Regions from separate parts of the Homo sapiens genome. Here regions 1, 2, 3, 4 and 6 are each linked to region 5. Evidence: promoter capture Hi-C in 16 types of primary human blood cells and fetal thymus (Javierre and others, 2016). All regions are on one chromosome and are shown on one strand. The core of a region is centred on a gene start or on the middle of the fragment in contact, and the rest is flanking DNA. Distances in the headings are between cores, read along the strand shown. Region 1 overlaps LINC00358 (long intergenic non-protein coding RNA 358). Region 2 has its middle 85 kb from the start of LINC00358. Region 3 has its middle 170 kb from the start of LINC00358. Region 4 has its middle 140 kb from the start of LINC00358. Region 5 holds the start of PCDH9 (protocadherin 9). Region 6 has its middle 160 kb from the start of LINC00358.

The links. The method cuts DNA at HindIII sites, captures the fragments that hold promoters and counts their contacts. A CHiCAGO score of 5 or more calls a contact.
Region 1: a fragment that was not itself captured here is called in contact with the fragment with the promoter of PCDH9 in region 5 in 1 of 17 cell types (total CD4 T cells); the score reaches 5.1 in total CD4 T cells.
Region 2: a contact is called between a fragment that was not itself captured here and the fragment with the promoter of PCDH9 in region 5, in 2 of 17 cell types (M2 macrophages and M0 macrophages). The highest score is 11.6, in M2 macrophages.
Region 3: a fragment that was not itself captured here is called in contact with the fragment with the promoter of PCDH9 in region 5 in 1 of 17 cell types (total CD4 T cells); the score reaches 7.0 in total CD4 T cells.
Region 4: a contact is called between a fragment that was not itself captured here and the fragment with the promoter of PCDH9 in region 5, in 1 of 17 cell types (M2 macrophages). The highest score is 5.9, in M2 macrophages.
Region 6: a contact is called between a fragment that was not itself captured here and the fragment with the promoter of PCDH9 in region 5, in 3 of 17 cell types (monocytes, naive CD4 T cells and non-activated CD4 T cells). The highest score is 7.4, in monocytes.

What each region holds. Positions count from the first base shown.
Region 1 is chr13:62,003,473-62,006,894 of GRCh38, forward strand. LINC00358 (long intergenic non-protein coding RNA 358) reads right to left here. Exons shown (of 2, transcript NR_046995.1): 2 at 53-1,038. Among named protein-coding and RNA genes, the nearest start is that of LINC00358, 24 kb to the right of the region's middle. The HindIII fragment of the contact is 1,889 bases long and covers 522-2,410 here.
Region 2 is chr13:62,112,531-62,115,777 of GRCh38, forward strand. No RefSeq gene overlaps it. Among named protein-coding and RNA genes, the nearest start is that of LINC00358, 85 kb to the left of the region's middle. The HindIII fragment of the contact is 1,489 bases long and covers 1,146-2,634 here.
Region 3 is chr13:61,853,596-61,856,867 of GRCh38, forward strand. No RefSeq gene overlaps it. Among named protein-coding and RNA genes, the nearest start is that of LINC00358, 170 kb to the right of the region's middle. The HindIII fragment of the contact is 9,273 bases long and covers 1-3,272 here.
Region 4 is chr13:61,888,711-61,892,187 of GRCh38, forward strand. No RefSeq gene overlaps it. Among named protein-coding and RNA genes, the nearest start is that of LINC00358, 140 kb to the right of the region's middle. The HindIII fragment of the contact is 2,581 bases long and covers 150-2,730 here.
Region 5 is chr13:67,228,988-67,232,454 of GRCh38, forward strand. PCDH9 (protocadherin 9) reads right to left here and starts at 1,349. Exons shown (of 5, transcript NM_203487.3): 1 at 793-1,349. RefSeq lists a silencer at 1,620-1,759. The HindIII fragment of the contact is 4,939 bases long and covers 1-3,016 here.
Region 6 is chr13:61,872,198-61,875,383 of GRCh38, forward strand. No RefSeq gene overlaps it. Among named protein-coding and RNA genes, the nearest start is that of LINC00358, 160 kb to the right of the region's middle. The HindIII fragment of the contact is 624 bases long and covers 1,552-2,175 here.

The DNA.
Region 1 (3,422 bases), core at 216-2,715, 5.2 Mb before region 5:
GTAAAGTTTCATCATTAAAACAGGAGTAATGTCAAAGGCTAAGATGCAAGCATACAATATGAACTCATTTTATTGTTTAAATTATTTTACTATGCCAAAGTTATATTAAGATTTAAAACTCCTCTAATTTAGTATTGCAGCTTAGTCACTATGATCAATTCTCTCAAAGATAACAACAAAAAAAGGATGGATGAAAACTGCATGTTAAAACGGATCAAAGAGTTAATGATATAACAAGGGATTACTGAAAATCTACAAAAAAAATGCATTTCCAGCTTAGAATAAAGAAAAGTAAGCCTGGTATTTAAAATTGCTTTAGTCTAAAGATCAAAGAAAGTGGTAAATATGTGGATAAATCTGAGAAAATTTAACTTTATTATAGAGTATTATCAATATCATGGAGTCTTGGAATTACACAGCAAAGTAATCCATGCATTTGAATAGAACTAATCCTAAGAGAGGTTAATATTCTAAGATATTTGTAATGTTCAGGAGATGGGTAAACATATCTGTTAATATTAAGCTTGATGGAATGCAGAAAACTATTGTATATGTTTCTATTAGTGACTAATGAAAACAGTGTAAAACTTTTAAACTACTTGAGAGAAAAAAGAAATTATAATACATATTATATCCAAAAGAGTGTGGATTATCTTTTATCCCAGCTCTGGCTGTGACTCCCAAACTGGGTCATCCTCCAGGAAAATGGTCTCTCCAACCAACTGGGATCTGTAACTCCAATTCAGTCCTCATCTTTGTGGGTTGCCCCTTTCATCCTGTTCAGGCTCTGACTTGCTGAACTGAGCTGCCCCTTTAATGGACCCACTGTTCACCTGGCTCAAGCTCCAATCCTCCAGGCTGGAGAGCCATAACCCTCCACCACTGCATGTGAATATCCATCTCCTCCTGTTTGTAGTTCGACACCCACACAAGCTCAGCATTTTGTGAAGATCATCTCTTAACACTTCTTGGTCTCTAATATCCCACAAATGTCCGTTGGAATGGGAAGGCTGCCTCCACTGGACAACGTAGGCTGTCCTGTGAAACATCAAGTAAGGAATATGAAGATTTCACAATTTTTGTGAAGTTGAAAATAAATTATTCCCCAAATTAAGGAAGAATAGAATAAAATACGTAATCAGAGCCCCTTACTATCTGAAAGTATTCTTTTTAAACCTCTGCATGGCATTTGGGACTAGAGTCACGCTTTATTTTTACTGTCTAAAGAAAGCAATAGGCTAAGATACTATCAGTTTGGTTTTAGTTCATTGACCTTTTGAGGTGTGTAATTTACCCTATTTTTTCTAACTAATCATTTTGAGTTATATCAAGTTCATAGATAATTATTCATTTTAATGTTTCCCCTTTTCTTTCTCTGCTACTTTATCTTTCTCTCCCTTATTCTTTCTTACTCCTTTTCTCTCTTTTTTCCCTTCTTTATTTCCTCTGTTTGCCTATCAATTTTAGATTATTTGTTTGTGTTGCATTTAATACAGCTTTGTAAGCCACATTAAAATGTTTCTGGAAGATGATCAACTTTAAGTAAATAGATGAATTAAATAAATAACAGCATAAAGTATGATTTACATTGGAATCCATTTGGTTTCCTGTTTATACACTATATTAAAATTTTACATCAAAATTATATGGCAGTAAGAGGAAAATACCAAAGAGAAAAAAAAAATAAAGTTTGTAAATACATTTGAGAAGCATAAATAAAATAGAAATAAAAAACTGCGAATAGTTAAAGCCACCAGCCTATTGAACTCTATGCCTGGAGACCAATAGAGAGAACCACATCATGTTTTAATTACTACAGAATTAGGAAAGGTAGTCACGTAAAGGATTAGTTGCTTGAAAACAATGACTGGTGTAATCTGCTTGCTCCTAATATAAGGCTAAATATTACATTGTTGATTGCCTCCTTGGGATATAACTTAGATTTAAATGAAGTGATGTGAGAGATTTGAACACAGATTACACACACACACACACACACACACACATGCACACACACAAACACACATTATGAATGTTTATGTCCCCACCTCCCAATTTGTATGTTCAAATTCTACCACATTAGAATGAGGACATAGGGCCTTTGGAGGGATGATTAGATTATGAGGTCAGGGCCCTCAAGAACTGGATTAATATCCTTATAGGAGATCCAAAAGACATCCCTTTTGCCTTCTGCCATGTGAGAACATAACAAGAGAGCACATTTATTTTCTTATACCAGTCCAAAAGGACTAAAATATGTGGAATAATATGTACCTGTGTGTGTTCATTTGTGTTTGTGTATGTTCGTATAGTTCTCAAATCAAGAACTGACATATCCTACTGGCTTTTTGGCAGAATCCAAGATATCTTCACTATCACTCTGGGGCAAGGTATCTGAGTTCATCATACAAGCTTTAGTTCTAGACTGAAGGCCTCAGAGAACTGAGGGGAGACAACTATAAAACCAAAGATAAGCCATCCCACTCAAAATGATACTGCACACCAAAATTCTAAATTAGATATGTTAGAAAAATTATTCAACTCTCCCAAGGCAGCCATCACAAATAAACAACTAGATAATTAACAAATAACTTTAAAGAGTAATATCATAAAATAATTTAAGATACTTAAGTAAAAATATATTGAGATTACCCACAGAAGTAAATAGCAAGAAATAATGGAGCAAAATCACACAGAAATGAAAGAAATGAGGGCATAAAAACATAAATCATAGAATGAAGAACATAGTCATTGAATTAATAATATAATGAAACAAGTATATAATATTAATCCTTAACCAAACGAATTCTTATCTATATCAAAAGCAATCAATCTGGAAATTTAATATATTGAGATTAATATTCTTATTAATAACAAACATTATAGAGTTTATGGAAATAAATTGTGCAAATGTGCAAAACTTTTAGGAAGAAAATGATAAAGCAGCATTAAAAGATAAAAATCCATTAATAAATGGAAACAATATCACAATGAATTAGAAAACCCAACTTCATGAAGACAGGAATTTTACATGTGTTAATGGGTAAATTCAGTGATACTCCATTCAAAAATTTAATAGTTTTCCTTGTTTGTTCATAAAAATTGTCTAACATACTAAAATCCATAAGAAATATTAAATGGGACTTCTATTTCAACCTAAGATTCACTAACAGTGAGTTACGTTCCTTAATGAAACAAACAAAAAAAAATACCAAAACACTTTAACAGCAGATTTCAACACACTGAGCAGCACAAGGAAAGTGATTGTAAGAGATGAAAAGCAAATGAGGTTACACCTCTGATTGTCTAAGCTCCCTTCCTTTAGAGAGTTTCCAGGCCTTGGCACAGAAAGAAGGAATACAGGCAGAGCCGAAGAGACTTCCTAATTTTGAGGAGAGAGCTGAAAGGTCACTGACACCAAG
Region 2 (3,247 bases), core at 640-3,139, 5.1 Mb before region 5:
TAGATGTGTAACTTGAATAAGTTACACTACACAGTTGAATTGCCAACTCATAAATTCAAACATATATTTTGCATGAATTTATGGTATCTAACAACAATTATTTTTTAAATAATGAATAATGAGGCAAATCAGAGTGCTTATACGGAAAACTAGGTTTATATTTCTTCATGGTTATTTAAATATTCTTTTTCTCTCTTTTGAAATTATCCTGTCAAACAGTTAGTAGATCTCCAACACACCCAAAAAATCTTGACAGTAAACATACTGCAATACTGCATTAATTTAAAAAAAATCACTAAGAGAAATCCTTTTTGGTATTTTCTCTGTCATATGCCCATTTTTTTTTTAGCTCTTAAAGATTTCTATGCAAAAAGAGGGTCAGGACTAAATAAGTTTGGGAAATGGAGCCTACTATATTCCATCCATGGAAAATCACAACCCACAAAACAAGGGTTCTGAACAATCTTTCAGTGAATAAGTGTTCAGCTTTGTTTATCCTACTTTTTACAAGTATGCTTTACCAGAGAACAGTTTTTAAAGTAACCTCTCTCTTTACATCCTGTAGATATAGAATTCCACAGAAAACCCTCTGAAATGCTGTTCTGTGCTAAACAAGAACTCCACTGCATATAACCTAAGTTACTTTGTAACCTTCTTGCCTATTCAAGCACAGACAGTCAAGGTAAATCTGAATCCACTCTCTAGAGTGTTTGTATGTATGAATTATCTCTCTAAAGCACCATCTGGCCACAATACTTTATCATTATCAACACACAAGAGCTGTCTGCATCCAGGAAAGTATTTCACACCTTATTTAAATGTGCTACCCAATATGCATGCGTGTGAACTATACATCCAGAGTCAGATATGCACTTCTCACATCTAACATCAACATATCAGGTTTGCCCAGTTCTCTCTCTCTCTCTGTGTGTGTGTGTCTCACACACACACATACACACACATTTTGAAGTTGAAGCTCTTGACTTCATAAGGATGACTCATCTCCTTTACTTGAATAGCTCGTGTGTGTGTGTATGTGTGTGTACGTGTGTGTAATATTCAAACATGGGCAGAGATAGAACTAGCTTGTGCACTAATCATATCTAAGACTAACATATCAGAGTTCACTAAAGATGAAAATGTTAAGCTTTCCTAGTTTGATGATGACTGTTTTCCCAACATAGGAGTATGCAATTCTTGTCCTCCAGCCAACATTACAAGTCTGAATATCTAGGCAAAGACTCTAATAAACTTGCACCATATCCAGTTTACAGTGATGCCTACACAAAGCCACTATAGAGAAAGAACATTCATACCTCTAAGAAGATAAATTCAGTGCAAAAATCATCTAAAGGTTAAAGTACTATGGCCTATTGTCCCCACCACAAAAAAATCTGAGTTTATGTGATATGTATAACTGTAAGGTTTAATTTAGATATATTAGATTACCTATATTGAAGTTTTTTAGTGGTGAGCACTTCCATATGAAAATAGGTAGTTTTGAAAGTTTAGGTCTTGCAGTTTTCCACATTACCATGTCAAAGTCGATAGTAAGAACATAAAGTTTTCTCTGCAGGTATTAGACAACCACACATTGACACACCTCTCTGAAAATTTCTTCTTTAAATTTCTGTTTAGATCACAATGAAAACAGCTGACTCCATATGAAAATGGTTACAAAAAAAATCATGTCAAGTGCAAATATATCTGAGCAGACAAGAAGATGAGCTATTCTAATAAAAGAGATAACTCATCCTTGTTATGTGAAGTCAAGAGCCTCAACTTCAAAAGGCAACATTTTAGGAAGATAAAGTGAATCCTTCTCATTCTAATTTTGTTGTTTCATACTTTATAAAACACAAAAGCAATGAATAAATTTTTAAAAATAACTTAGTGTACCTTCGGGTTTCTTTCCCAAGGAGCCTCCAGGTATTCTCTGAGATATGCCTAGAAATACAACAATACTGTTGTTGTTGTTGTTGTTGTCGTTTTGAAACAGAGTCTTGCTCTGTCGCCCAGACTGGAGTGCAATGCCGCAGTCTCCACTCACTGCAATTTCCACCTCCCGGGTCCAAGTGATTCTCCTGACTCAGCCTCTCGAGTAACTGGGATTACAGGCACCAGCCACCATGCCCAGCTAATCTTTGTATTTTTGTAGAGATGGAGTTTCACCATGTTGGCCAGGCTGGTCTCAAACTCCTGACTTCAAGTAATCCGCCCACTTTGGCCTCCCAAAGTGCTGTGATTACAGGTGTGAGCCACCGCGCCCAGTCAACAACACTGTTTTAATGTGTGAGGAAAAGGAAACACAGGGAAAGGGGAAAGCATGGTCTCTGAAGACATTTCATCTTTTCAGTTCCTAGTGTAGACAGTGAAATCCATGTACATTCGTTAATATAAAATGTTTAGATTACACCATTAGTAGATGGAGAGGGAAGTTTCTATAACACTACAGAAAATTCTAACTCATTACCATAATATCTTTTCACTCTTCACCTTCAATGCGAGGGCAACTGCAGCAGTCATTGGCAATCAATTTTCAGACTCCCAAGGGATGTGTCTGGGGATCTCTCAAGGTGAATAAACAATCAAAGACATATTTCAGCCAGGTGTAGGGACTCCTGTGGCTGTGGAAGCTTTTTGAGAATTTCATCTTACTGATATGGGAGAGCTGAGGAGAGAAGAGTGTGGTCCCTTCAAATGATCCGGAAGTGGGGAAGGGAAGTGCTGGGTAGAGGAGAAAGTGGTCCTTGCCTAGGGCTCCACCCCAACAGACCTAGGTGAGGACAAGCATTTTTGTTGCATTTCCCAAGACCACCCTGGCCTGCGGTGCCCCCATCCTGTGCCTATAAAAACCCCCGAGGCCCTAGTAGGCAGACACACAAGCAGCTGGACTTCGAGATGAGTGGATTGAAGGAAGAAGACACCAGAAGCTGGACGTGGAGGCGGAAGAGCACACCAACAGATGCTGGCAGGCAGGCCATCAAGCAGCAGAACAACACAGAGTTTTGCTGGGGCAGTCAGAGGACAGCCTAGGCCGCTGAACAGCCCAACTCCAGGGGAAATCCTTCCCACTCCATCCTGCTTTTGGTTTCCCCCATCTGCTGAGAGCTGCCTCCACTCAATAAAACCTTGCACTCATTCTCCAAGCCCAGGTGTGATCTGATTCTCCAGGTACATCAAGGCAAGGACCCGGGATACAGAAAGCCCTCTGTCCTTGTGACAAGGTAGAGGGTCTAATTGAGCT
Region 3 (3,272 bases), core at 665-3,164, 5.4 Mb before region 5:
GAATGAAAATGAACATCCCGGAGAATTAAACTAACATCTAAATATAAATCACCGAGGCTCAGGGTAAATGGGGGAATGAGGAAACTCAGGAAGCTGGGGTGGAGAGATGATTTTCTTTAGAATTGTTCCTTGTTTTTAAAATAGATTTAATGAAATATAATTTATATACCATAAATTCATCTGTTGTTAGGACAAATTTAACACTTTTAGTACATTTAAAGAGTTAAACAACCATGTGATCTGGTTTTAGGACATTTCCATCACTCTTAAAAGATCTCTCGCCAAGTATTAAGTTTGATCTCACAAATGACTTTGGAAAGTGGAGTCAGTACTAGAATGCAGAGGCTTCGACTGGGTGTTTGTTCTCATGGGCTACCTGGTGGCCTTATCTACCTTATACTATCCCCTTACCTGGAAACACTGCCAGCATCCACTATGTATACATGCTTTTTTTCTATCAACGGAGCTCATGAGGTTGTCGATTCCATGGCCTTGCCTTCATTTATGACACACATGCCACACAATTCAGTCATGGTACCATATTCTCCTGGATAATCATTGTTCAAGGATTATGACTCCTTTAGAGGATATTGCTATGCCCAGTCTAACAAAAAATCTTCAGTATCCCAGTAAAAGCCTCATTAAGAATAAAACCAATTTATAGGAAGCAAAGCAGACTGATGGAGACGTAGAATTCCTTACCTGAAGCAAGTCAGCTTCTTAAAATCCCCCATAATGCGAGCCAATAAATGACTCCCTCTTTATTATACCAGTTTGGCCTTCAAATTTACATTCTCTGTGAATTCCAGGGCATCTCAACCAGAGAAACTACTACTAAGAAACTAAGTAGTCCAGGGTACCTGGCAGAAGCAAGTACAAATCTCTTTGAAAGGATATATGCTCAACCCAAGATGAAGACCCAGATGAGGCATGGAAAATGTAAACTCACTAACAAAGCAAATATGAGGAAACAAGCTACTTTAAATGCCAAAGGAAGCAATGTGCTATAGCACTAGAGCTGTCCAGGTTTTTGGATAATGGAGATGTGAGATAGGAAATATAACTTAAGTGCTTTTAAAGAATAAAATAAAAAAATGAAAACAAGACGCTGCCACAAATGACATTGTTTCTCTTTTATCCTCATCTGAATGCTTATAACAATAAATTATGTTTGTTCAGAGACGATCCTTAAGTAGTAAAGGGAGCCAACACAAACACGTATGTTGCAGAAAAGAAAATATCTTTTTCTCTGAACAGTATTGGTGAACAATAGCCCTAGGCAGAATAATGTATCTTGATATTTGTGTTATTATATTATTATTTTTATTATCATCTTTTATTATAACATAGCCCACAAAATAATAATGCTTCTGTTTGACAGACGGGTTTAATTATACCACTTATTTAAAATTAATAATTTGCTTATAACCCAAATTTAAGAAACAAGAAAAAAACTTTGCTGGAACTTCCACTTTTGTTCTTTATTCTAGGATAAATGTACTTCAATGTGACTCCTGTTTTTAGAATGTGGTATGCAGTTAATAGTATTGACTTCTGAATAGTATATGAAGAAGGAAGAATAATATATTATCACAAACAAAAGCAACGGATGAGAAGCGAGGTTATACATAAAGCAGAAGAAGGTTAAGAACCATGAACTTTTCTTTGGCTATGAGCTGTGGAAAGTACTTAACTATGAGTAAATTCAAATTTATTAGAGGATTGGTAAATGCAATCCACACTATGATGTACCCTTCATTGTGAATCCTCCAAAAATTTAAAAATTACAGTACTCTAGTATAATGACATATGTGAAATGCTTGGTTTAATTTTCAAGTCAAAGTTTATATAAGTCAAAACAGGGTCAAGCTATAAGGTCAAGCATAATGTAATAGCTGACATAGGTGTTATAAAAAAGCACAAAGAAGAAATTGTATTAAAATTTAAAAAAACTAAAAGAAAAGGAAGTTACAGGAGAATTTAAATAAAATAATGTTAGTAAATATAATAGGCACATGGCTAATATATTTACAACTATTGTCATTATTTATTATTATTCTTATTTTTTTTTTTTGAGATGGAATTTTGCTCTTGTTTCTCAGACTGGAGTGCAATGGTGCCATCTCGGCTCACCACAACCTCTGCCTCCCGGGTTCAAGCAATTCTGTCTCAGCCTCCCGAATAGCTGGGATTACAGGTGCATGCCACCATGCCCGGCTAATTTTTGTATTTTTAGTAGAGATGGGGTTTCATCATATTGGTCAGGCTGGTCTCGAAGTCCTGACCTCAGGTGATCTGCTCGCCTTGGCCTCCCAAAGCGTGGGGATTACAGGTGTGAGCCACAGCGCCCGACCTATTTTCATTATATTTTTATTGGTACATGGAATACCTATGTAATAAGATATATTGAAATACTAATCTTTGTGATGTTTTTCCTGACTCTTTTGTGTTTTATTTCTGAATGAGCGTTAAAGTCATTCCTATTACTCAAGTATAATCGGGGTAATTTACAGCAGAAATCCAAAGGGGAAGACCAGTCTATGTTGTTTTTGGCTTCTAAAGCAAAATTTTCTTGCTGCTGAAGAGCAAAAAGACTTTCAAATTCTAAATTTTTTATATGCAAGGGCTGGAATTTTTTGAGTCATGCTAGCAATTGAGGTGGGAGAAAACTTGAAAAATGAGCAGTAAGACATTGAAAGAGATACTATGCAGAATTTGAGCAGTAACAACAACTTAGAAAGAGAAGAGAGGAAGACCTAGACAGCTTTATTTCCCAGGAGAATTAAATGATCCACAGTGGAATGGGAGAAGAAAGAGAAGGTGGAAATGATGATGGTTAAGCAAACGCAATTAGTCCGGAATGGGGAGTAATTTATGGACAAAACACAAGTATACACCTCTTGAGTTTATGATAAATAAATGAGTTAATATTCATAAATGCAGCAGTGTCTGGCCTCAGTAAGTACTCAAATATATATTCATAGGTAAAATTTTATACACTGTATTTGTATGTTCACTTAATAAAACATGTTTTAAAATTGAAAATCATATGAGTAAAGCTATGACTGATCTTTCTGAGCTACCGCTGGGGACTTTCATGTTTTCTGTTACATGTATTAGGGATAGTGAACTAACAATTACTTTTTAATGAGAAAATAAATAAAACACATTCACAATAAAAATACACTTAATATAAAATTGAGTGACTAAGTTTTGCCCTTGACTTGTGGCCTGACTCTATTTTGACTCTATTATGAACAGACTCAAAATAG
Region 4 (3,477 bases), core at 190-2,689, 5.3 Mb before region 5:
ATCTTTGCACAACTATGAAATATTTGCGATACACTATTTTGTTCCTCATTTTCATGAATTGTATGATGTATACACTAATTGTACCAACCCATATGTGAAGACTACATGGGTAAATATTTGAAACCTTAAGACAGCACCTGGGTATATAAAGCTTGAGCATTGCTTATTCAAAAATCTAAACACTGATATGCTCCCAAATCAGAATTTTTTTGTGCACCAACATGATGCCACAGTAGAAAAACCACACTTTATGTGCTGGGTTTCAGTCAAAACTTGTACTCATGTGCTGGGTTTCATGCACAAAATTATTTGAAATACTGTATGACACTACCTTCAGACTATGTGTATATAAGACATAAATGAATTTTTGTGTTCAGACTTGGATCCCATCCCCAAGACATCACTTTATGCATATGCAAATATTCCCAAATCCAAAAAACTCAAAAATACTTCTGGTCCCAAGCACTTAAGACAAAGAATATTCACCATGTATGAGTATTTTATTAGGAGCAAAAAATTAATTTAATTTTAAATAACATTTATATGAAACAAAGTAATAAGGGATGCACTTTCTTCTAAGCTAAAATTGTTAGAGTTGTACTCACCAAAGTAGTCCATATTTAATATTTAATTCTGTATAGGGGTAATACATTTTAACCTGTGTGAAATATAAGTTGGTACCTATTTCTCACAAAAATCACTTGGTTGGAAATCTCTGTGGATGACTCAAATAAAAATATATTTCAGAATTATTCAAATACGTACATTGTTGAATCCTGGTACTGAACTGGGCCGAGCTTCTGAGGTGCTGGGTGTGGTTTCTGGATCCCTGGAGGAAGACCTGCTCTTAGCCAGAGGCTTACTTGCACTTCTTTGGTACTTTTCCCATCTACTAGGTGAACTCTAAATTCCTTCCCATTGAATATAGGCACGACTTAATTACGTATTCGAAAAATTTAATGTAGTGAAAGTTAGAATTCTGGGACTTTTCAGGTTAGTTAAAAGAAGCTGTGGAAATTCCAATTAAAAAGAAGCTGTGGAAATTCCAAGCAAACCAATAGGAATACTTACCCTGAGGGCCCTGAGTTCAACTCTAAGAAAGTCAACTATCCCAAGAAGGCCATGCTAAAGAGGCCACAGCTAGGCACTCTGTCAACAATCTTTATTTTGTAGGGTCAGCACTGTCACTTAAGGTAGTGTAGCAAATATAAAAATGAACCTCATTTATTTTCTTGAGGAAATTTTCAGTCAAAATGTCGGAAGTGCTGGCCATTTTCTTTCAGCCAGAAATAATGAAATAGCCAGGACAAAGAAATGAGCCATGACAGCAACTGTTTAGTTTTCAAGCACAATGAAAAGAAATATCATGGAATCAAGAATTGAAGGATTTGAAAATAAAATAATTTCTTTTTCACAGCCTGTTTTGACATGCCCCAAAAAATGTTCTTAAAGGGAGAAATAACTTCGGGGCAAAATTATCTTAACTTTGAGGCTTTAAAACTAAGAATTCAGAAAGGTTGAAGTGTGTGTCCCATAGATATTCTTGACTAGATAACAAGTTTCCTAAAACTCTTAAGCACACCGCCAACAACCTCATGATTCTTAGCCCAAGGCAAATAAGGACTAAATTCGGAGTTTTGTGGTTCGGCATTTATTTAATGAACCAAACCCAGATAAGAGTCACAGAAAAATTAATATTTTTATAAAACACTTTTCCTGGCAGAAGCACAGAGACAATTCAAAATAAGAAGAGTCCTTATTCTACAGGCAAGTCATAGGCTGAAAATACCATGCAGCTGTAAACATGAGTGATTTGTTATGTAAAAGTGGGACTCCGGAGAAACTGAGATCTCGGAGGGCAGGGGCAGGAGATGTAAAGGAGCATTCCCAGGAAGCAGCCCTGAGCCTGCAATTCTTTCCATTCAAGGCTCTAGAAACATGATTCTTGCTAGATTTCAGAAATGTGGTAGATCACTTACTATTGCTTCCTATGTCTTTCTTTTTTGAACAGGAGGATTTATTGCATTCACTCTGTCTCTGTCACATCTTTTTATATTGAGTATATGGGGGAAGATAACTACTTCCTTGTTCACACGACTTCAAGTTGAGAGGAAAACAGTGAGAAAACCTGAATCTGTTTAAAAGTTTTGAGATCCTGGTATTGCATCTGGTTCCATAATTAGATATGACTTTTAAGGTACTTAAGAAAGGATGATAGTATCTTTTAAAGTGGAAGAAATTTAAATTATTAAATTTTATATTATAAATTATAATTATAGTGTAATATATAATTACATATTACACATACTATGATCATTTATGTGTTATAAAATATTACAATATAATTATATTGTAATATATAGTATATTATAATAATTTATAATGTATAATTGTAATAATTATAGTATAATGTGTAGTATACTGTAATAATTTATAATGTATAAGTGATCATTATATATAATGTATTTTATTTATTATAGTTATATATGTAAATTTTTTTCCAGTAGGCAGATTAGAAAAGATAGCAAATTTTTTGCTGCTCTTTCTGTTGAGAGGTGGACCCTAATTTCTCTCCTTTTGAATCTTAGCTAGATTTGATGACATTCTTGGTTATTATAATATGGTAGATAATGTTGTGGTAATTTCAATGCTAGGTCATAAGATCGCGTCTTGCTAGTGCATGAGCCTCTTGAAACCTTCCCTCTGGGAGTCAAGACCTAGATTGTGAGAAGCTTGATTTCTCTGAGATCACCCTCATGGAGGGTCAGTTTAGACACTATTTCAGCAGAGTTTCAGCAGAGCTAATCCTTCCAGCCAACCTCATCAAGGCTAAAGACATCTGTGTGAAGCTGTATTGAACTCTAAAGAACATCTCTTCTGCCAGTAGAAGAACATTGGTGACATCCATCAATGTCACAAGAAACACAATAAGTGCCTAATCTCTGCCTGAACTTCTAACCCACAAAATTCTGACAAGTAGTGAAGTGATTGCTTTTTAAGCTACAAATATTTTGAGCACTTCATTATAGAAAAATTGATTACTAGGACAAAGGCTTGCCAACATTTTATGTCTCCCCAGCTCAAAAAAGCGTCATTTAAAAAAATCCTCCAGCATTAAATTGCATATGGTTTTGCAGACAAAATGCTGATTATTTTTATTATTATATTATGCTTATGTATACTCTCTTACCATTTTTTCATCTTCCCTTTTTTGGTCAAAAGCTACAGTGATAAACCTAATTAAATATCTTAGTAAAACTAAGATATTCATTACAGGTATCATGGAATCTCATCTTAACTATTTCAGGAGTTTAATTAGGTATACTGTCGCTCTACTGCTTCACCATACAGAGCCTGTCTTTATTATTGCCTTTAACTTAAAAAAAATATTTATTTATATTTTCCACTGGAATGCAAGTTTCTTGATATTGCTGTCCCCATATTCTACTTGTTTTCAATTACTCTGAATTATTTGCA
Region 5 (3,467 bases), core at 99-2,598:
TGTCAAATGTGTTTTCTTCTCTGCCCCACTGAGTCACCTATCTTTTCTAAAAAGGCTATCTTTTTCTTTCCTCCCAGTTCTTCAACTGCCTTCTAATACAATCTTACTGGGAAACGAGCATCCGGACATGCCGCTGCAGCGGCATCAGAAGCAATAGTCACCGGCCTCTACACATCCTCATTGCCTAAAAGCACAACAACAAGACTTCAGATTTCTTGCCCACAGCTTGCTCTCCTTTCTCCATATTGACAAATTATCCTCATTAGGATTCATAAACACATTAAAACTTTTAAAAATGTATAATAATATAGGATTCATTTTCCTAGAGGTGGAAGAGAGTGCCGAGATATAAGTGAAACGCAGCTAACATTCCCATGTAACATCACAATATTTTCTACTGAACATAAAAGAGAAAAAAAATGCAATTTCTTAATCCTGATCTCTGGTTAGAATATTAGTAACATTTGCCACACATAAATACTGCAACCCAATCATGCAGGTAAAAAGGCTTCTGCTTAGATAACTGCAGTTTAAATGGGTGCAAGGCTCCAGGCAGCTACCTACTTGAGTAGGACTGGTCAGTTCTCAGGCTCTAATCTTATCTGCATTAGGCTGCACAGTAGCTGATGCCCGCGATTAGTTCCGGCAGAGTGATGCAGGTAGGGATGCAGATACAGCCGAGTAGGTGAGCTCTGCCCCAACCGTCTACCCAATTACAAGCATCTTTCGCCTACACTGAGGACACATCTAAACACAGAATTTACAATTGTGCATGCGAAACTTTACACTTACGTTAGTTGCCTCAACCTTTCCCCTTTCCCAGTATGCTGCAGTTAGGAATGATTTGTTCCAACACATAGAAAGCCATGCATCTGGTAGCACCAGTTTGGGGAGAAATCAGAAGCAGCAAAATGTTTCCTCCTTGTAAAATGTGTTGCTTCGGGCTGGCAAATTAGCAACTCCAGAGAACAAATTCACGGATTTGTCGTTAGTCATTCTCTCCACATTTCGTCTCTCTTACCCACTGGGTCTGGGTTCTTCTGGGCATTTAGCACACACAACACATAGTTGCACTTCTTCAGCTCAGGGATATTTTCCACAGCAGCATGCATACCATTTCCATCCGATGCCAATACTGCTTAAGTCTCTAACTTCTTGTAGGAAACGTCAGAGTTGCGGTGATGATGATTCTCTGACAGCTATCCGGGTGACAGTTGCCCGAAAAATTCCTAATCGGTTATCTCTTGCGTGCTTCAGAGACTCTGAGGCGCTCCTTTCCGTCTCGCGTGCTCTCCCTCTCTCCCTTCCCCTCTGCCCCTCTCTCCTTCTCCCTCTCCTCTCTCTGAACTGAATTTCTTGATATAACTCTCAATAAGCCCAGAGGGAGGGCGTGACTGCCCAGGCCCCGCCCCCGGGCTCTGATTGGCCTGCATCTTGCGGCGCGGGCGGCCGCAGCCCGGCGCGAGGGAGGGAGCGCGGAACAAGGCGCTGACTGTCTCCCAGCCTCCCCTCCTCCGCGCCCCCTCGGCAGCAGCGAAAACCCGGAAATCTGATCCTGGCCCCAGGAGAGCCGGGTTCCATGAGGTGCACTGAGCATGCTCTGCAGGGTCCGGCGTGGGAGGGACGCGCTGGCGCTCCCCAGGCCCGGGCGGAAGCGGCGCTCGCAGGCGCTGAAAGCGAGCGACCCTCTGAGCCCGGGTGGTCCGGCGGGCAAGGGCGGCGCGGGAGACCCGCAGGGCGCGGGCGCGGATCCGGGGAACCAGGGCCACCGCTGCGGGCGGATGGGGGTCACCGAGGCGGCTCGTCTCCAGGCGCACACTTCGCACATCTCTTTGCTAAGTGAAGGGGCCAAAATGCACAGATGGGGGAGTCTACCCAGGAACAGAGGCGCGAGACGTATAGCCACCCCTGGGTTGGGAGCACGAGCCAGCAGATCCCCGGAGCGCGTTAAACGGACAACATGCCCGGTGCTGCAAATAGAGGCTTTTGCTGGCAGGGACATTGGAAAGAAGGGCGGAGAGGGAGTACAGCGAAAGGTGGGGACCGCAGAATTTGGAATCTCTGCGGAGACCGGAAAGAAAATTAATCGGAGCACTTCCTACATGCAGAGCCACGGAAACTGCCTTGGAAAGAGAAAGTGGCAGCGTCTGGGTCCCCTCGGTCAGCCCGGGCCAGTCGGCTGCGCGTGCGAAGTCTCCTCTAGCGGAGCGGGACCGGCCGCGGCGGTGGATCGTGGCGGTCCCTGCACTTCTGCTCCAGCCGCGCCTGGAAACCTGAGCCCGGACTCGCGGCTGCTGCAAAACCCGCTTCCAGCCCACCTCACTGCGAACTTTGCTTCCGAGGGGCTGGAAGGAGTCCCAGGCAGCTGTTTCCCAAGCTGTGGAACACTTCCTTTCCCCTAGGCACTTTCTGCTGATTCCAACTTTCTTTCCTGTGATTTTCGTCTTTTCCCGTGCATTTCATTTCTCCGACTCCAGCTCTGTACTAAATCCTCACAAGTTTCTCGTTTTCATACGGGAACTGGATGGAATGACTCCCCAAAAAATACAGCTTTATTTCTCAAATACTGACCCCCAAAGCACTATCTAGTAATATATTTGATTGATCTTTCAAAGTCAGTAAACCACAAAGGTTTGTGTAATGGCTTGTACTTAACGCCTGATACCTGAGTAAAGTTTGAAGCATTAACATAGGAACAGTTCACTTGGAACAAAAATTTATTTTCTGAATGACCTATAAAGGTTGTCAGAGAAGGTCTTAGTACATGATTGAATAACTTGGTCTAACTTACAGGAAGAATAAAGGGCATTTATTTTAAACCTGTGTGTTCCCCATTCTATAATGGGCTGCCTAGGCATTAAAGGCTCTTGACATACTTAAGCTCTTGACTGAGGGCGTGTTGGAGATTACCCCTTGTTTTTGAGTACAATAGTTTTGTTTGCTTTTTTTCTTTTTTAAGTAACATTTGTTTTTAGACGTTTAAATGAAAAGTAAAAAAAAAAAAAAACACCAATCAAGCTTACTAAGCCATATATTGAATAAATAATGACATGATTTAACCAACTAATTTGACATCACAATTTTCCAACATGAAATTGTAAGCTCTTTTTAATTCAAACTTTTCTGAGTTAATATTCACAGTTCAACTGCAGTGTCTAAAAGCCCACTGTAAAATCCATTAATCCCTTATATGTAAAATATAAAATACTTTCCTTGCAGATAATAGACTGATATTTTTTAAATAGCAAAGCAACTTTTATTATAGTAATATTTTGTATGATTAGAATATATAAAATTCAAGAATAGAAAGGACTTACAAGTATCCCAAAGTGAAAAGAAAAATATTGCCTCACAGAATAATGTCAGTGAATGAAAGGATGATTCTTTTATCTTACCACAGTAAACGATCATTTTGCCATTCACAAAATCTACAATTAAAGCTAGTACATTGTTCCAATTGTCACCTA
Region 6 (3,186 bases), core at 614-3,113, 5.4 Mb before region 5:
CTTACATTATGTGACAGATGCTCTATTTAAATGATCAATTAAAAACTTAATATTCTCTTGATGATACAGTAGCTTTGTATCATACTAAACTTCTCACTGAAAAGCATAAATGCTGAACAAGGTCAAATGACAGCAACAAACAAAATTTTAAAGTCATTGCAGGACAATAAGTTCAGCTAGGATTTGAGGGACCAAATTCTAGAGAAATGGCAGGACACTGTTGTGACACCTATATTTACTTTAATTTTGCACTTGTCCATTGTGTTAAATTTTAGCACAGCAGAACCACTCCTGAACTTCTCAGTGATGCTGGTGTTTCTCTCACCAGACCTCCTTTTTGGCTTTCTAACATGGTGTATGCTCTGGACCTTACTTGGAACATAATCATCTGGTGGGTTTTTGTGTCTTAGTTATGATATCCATTCTGGTTCTCCCACTTTCTTGTGTCCTTTACTCCAATCATTATCTGCTTCCAGATAATTTCTGACACTTTGACACTCCATAGTGTGGAGATCAATATTTTTTCTATGTTTCATGGAGTCATCCTGACAGCAAGTTTGGATTATTCCCTAAGATTATTGCTAGGTGTTAATTCATCAATCATGGGACAGTGCTCCAAATAATTTACTCACACATTCAAGTAAAGTGATAATTAAAGTTCTTTTATTTTTTTCCTTAATTGAGACAGGTTCTCACTCTGTCACCCAGGCATGAGTGCAGTGGAACAATCACAGCTCACTGCAGCCTGAAACTCCTGGGCTCAGGCAATCCACCTCCAGCTCTTGGGCAGCTGGGACTACAGGCATGGGTCACCACGCCCTGCTAATTTTTCTATTCTTTTTTTAGAGACAGGGTTTCACCATGTTACCCAGGCTCATCTTGAACTCCTGAGCTCAAGCAATCTGCCCGCCTTGGCCTTCGTAAGTGCTGGGATTACAGGTGTGTGCCCCCGTGCTTGGCCAATTCTAGCTCTTAATAGAGAGTGATAGTCTTCTTTGGCAGATTCAGAGTTTTTATTAAAATATAAAAATTTAAGAATTTAGAGTCATAAACCCAGATTTTTCCATTCATGTGTCAGGGTCCCATTTGTTCCAATTCAAAACTCTGTTATTGGCATAGTAATCTGCTTTGGTTATGACATAAACCTTCCTTGGAGCCTAACTTTTCTGATCAGTATTTGATTTCATACTCAACTTTCTCTGCCCTCCTCTTGAAAGACATAACAGGCTCTCTGTATGTTACCAATGAGAAAACCTGGTTTTCATGGTAGGCTTTCAATTAACAGCTCATCTCTCTTAGATTTGTATTATCTTTCCCTAATGTGTCAATCTAATCTAGATTTGCAATAAAGCTGTGATTCCTTTGTCTGCATTAACTTTCTTTTGCTGTGTGACAATATTATCTCAGACTTAGCATATAGTTTAAAACAACATTTTTTTTTCTTACAGCCTCTGTGGGTCAAGAATCCAGCCGTGGCTTAGCTTGTTTCCCTTTTTAGGGTATTCCAAGGCTAGCAATCAAGATATAAGCTCCACTGCAATCTCAGCTGGAAGCTTGACTGGAACAGGATCTATTTCCCTGTTTGCATGGTTGTTAGTAGCATTCAGTTCCTTACAGATGTAGTACTGAGAGCTTCAAATATGTTTACTGTCTCTTGGAAGAAGGATGCCTTCAGCTCCCAGGGCTCACCTGCAGGCCTTGCTGTATGAGGTTTACTAACATAGCCACTTGCTTCCTCACATCATGAAAGTGAGAGACTGTAGCAATTTGACAGCTACAATCTTATGAAACAGATCACATGATTACATACATGTAATCATGTGCATATTCTCACCTTTGCCATATTCTATATTTAGAAGCAAGTGACAGGTCCCATCTACACTGAAAGGGAAGGGATAACACAAGGATGTGAACAATAGGATGTGAGGGTAATGGCAGTCCTCCCATAATCTTTTCACTTTGCATAGTTTATCTTTAATCTGTAATTTTTAAATACTTGACACATTGCACCAGATAGCACATCCCTTTCTGTCAGTATAATAAAATATTCTAATTCAACACCTGTGAATATTTCAACAATAGTACTGCTACCTCATCTCAGGGACTGTATGTGTTTCACTGACACCAGTGAGTGGGTCTTTGTTTCCAGCCAGATGGTGAGTGATTCCATTCCAAAGCTTTGTCTCATTGCCTGTACTCTTAGACAACTCCTGGCACCCATTTATGATCTTTGTAGGAAAGGGTTTCTGATTCAGAGTTTAGAGTGCAGAATGTTTCTCAGGGAGCAGAAGGAAGAAAGAAGTCAGACTGGGTACTGGAAGAAGTGGAGTTGGAACGCAATCCTGACAGTCTCCGCCACTGTACAGGCACAGTTGGAGCTGAAATGACCCATCTGAGATTTCCCATATTCTACTAGAAATACTGACTCTCTAACACAACCACATTCAATTATTGGCTATGGGTATCTCTGGAATGGTATGAGTTGAGGTGATAAAACTTCCTGAACCTAAGTTAATCCCTCCTGATACTGAAAACTTAGATTGTCTGCTTTCTTCTAAAAGCATTCTAAGTAACTGCAACAACAATTTCTTCCTCGAAGGAAAATTTGGGTCTAAATTCCCCAACTGCTTCCTGTTCAGAATGAAGAAAATATTTCTACTATGTATTGGGTATATTGGCTTCTGACAACTCTACAAGTAAATCCCTCTTCAGGGGTTGTTCTAGCCTAAAGGCAATTGCCATTCTCAAGTTTATGCCCTCTGCCTGAGGGCAGCCTGTAACAAATATCTGATCAATGTTACTTAAGGAAAGAAAAAGATGGTCCCATCACCTCAACTGAGATAACTTTGTGAATCCATTCCAGTTCCAAATTTCCTTGTGAGATTGCCTAAGGTCTCTGTTGCCACTGTGTTGCAGGAATCGGGAGGACAAGAGAAACCTCATGGTAAAGTAGGAGGATCTTTATTGAGTGCACTCAGACCCAGTGGACATAACATCCAAAAAACTGGGCCCAGAACAAAGACAGCACTTGACATTTATACACACTTTAAAAAGGGGGTGGGCTAGCTTGAGTCAGGCTTACAGTGGCATGAAGTGAAAGCAAGGATACAGAGGCAGAACAAAGGCAGTGAATCAAATTGTGACAGGTGCATAACTCGGAATTACATATGACCATTGCCAGGCAAC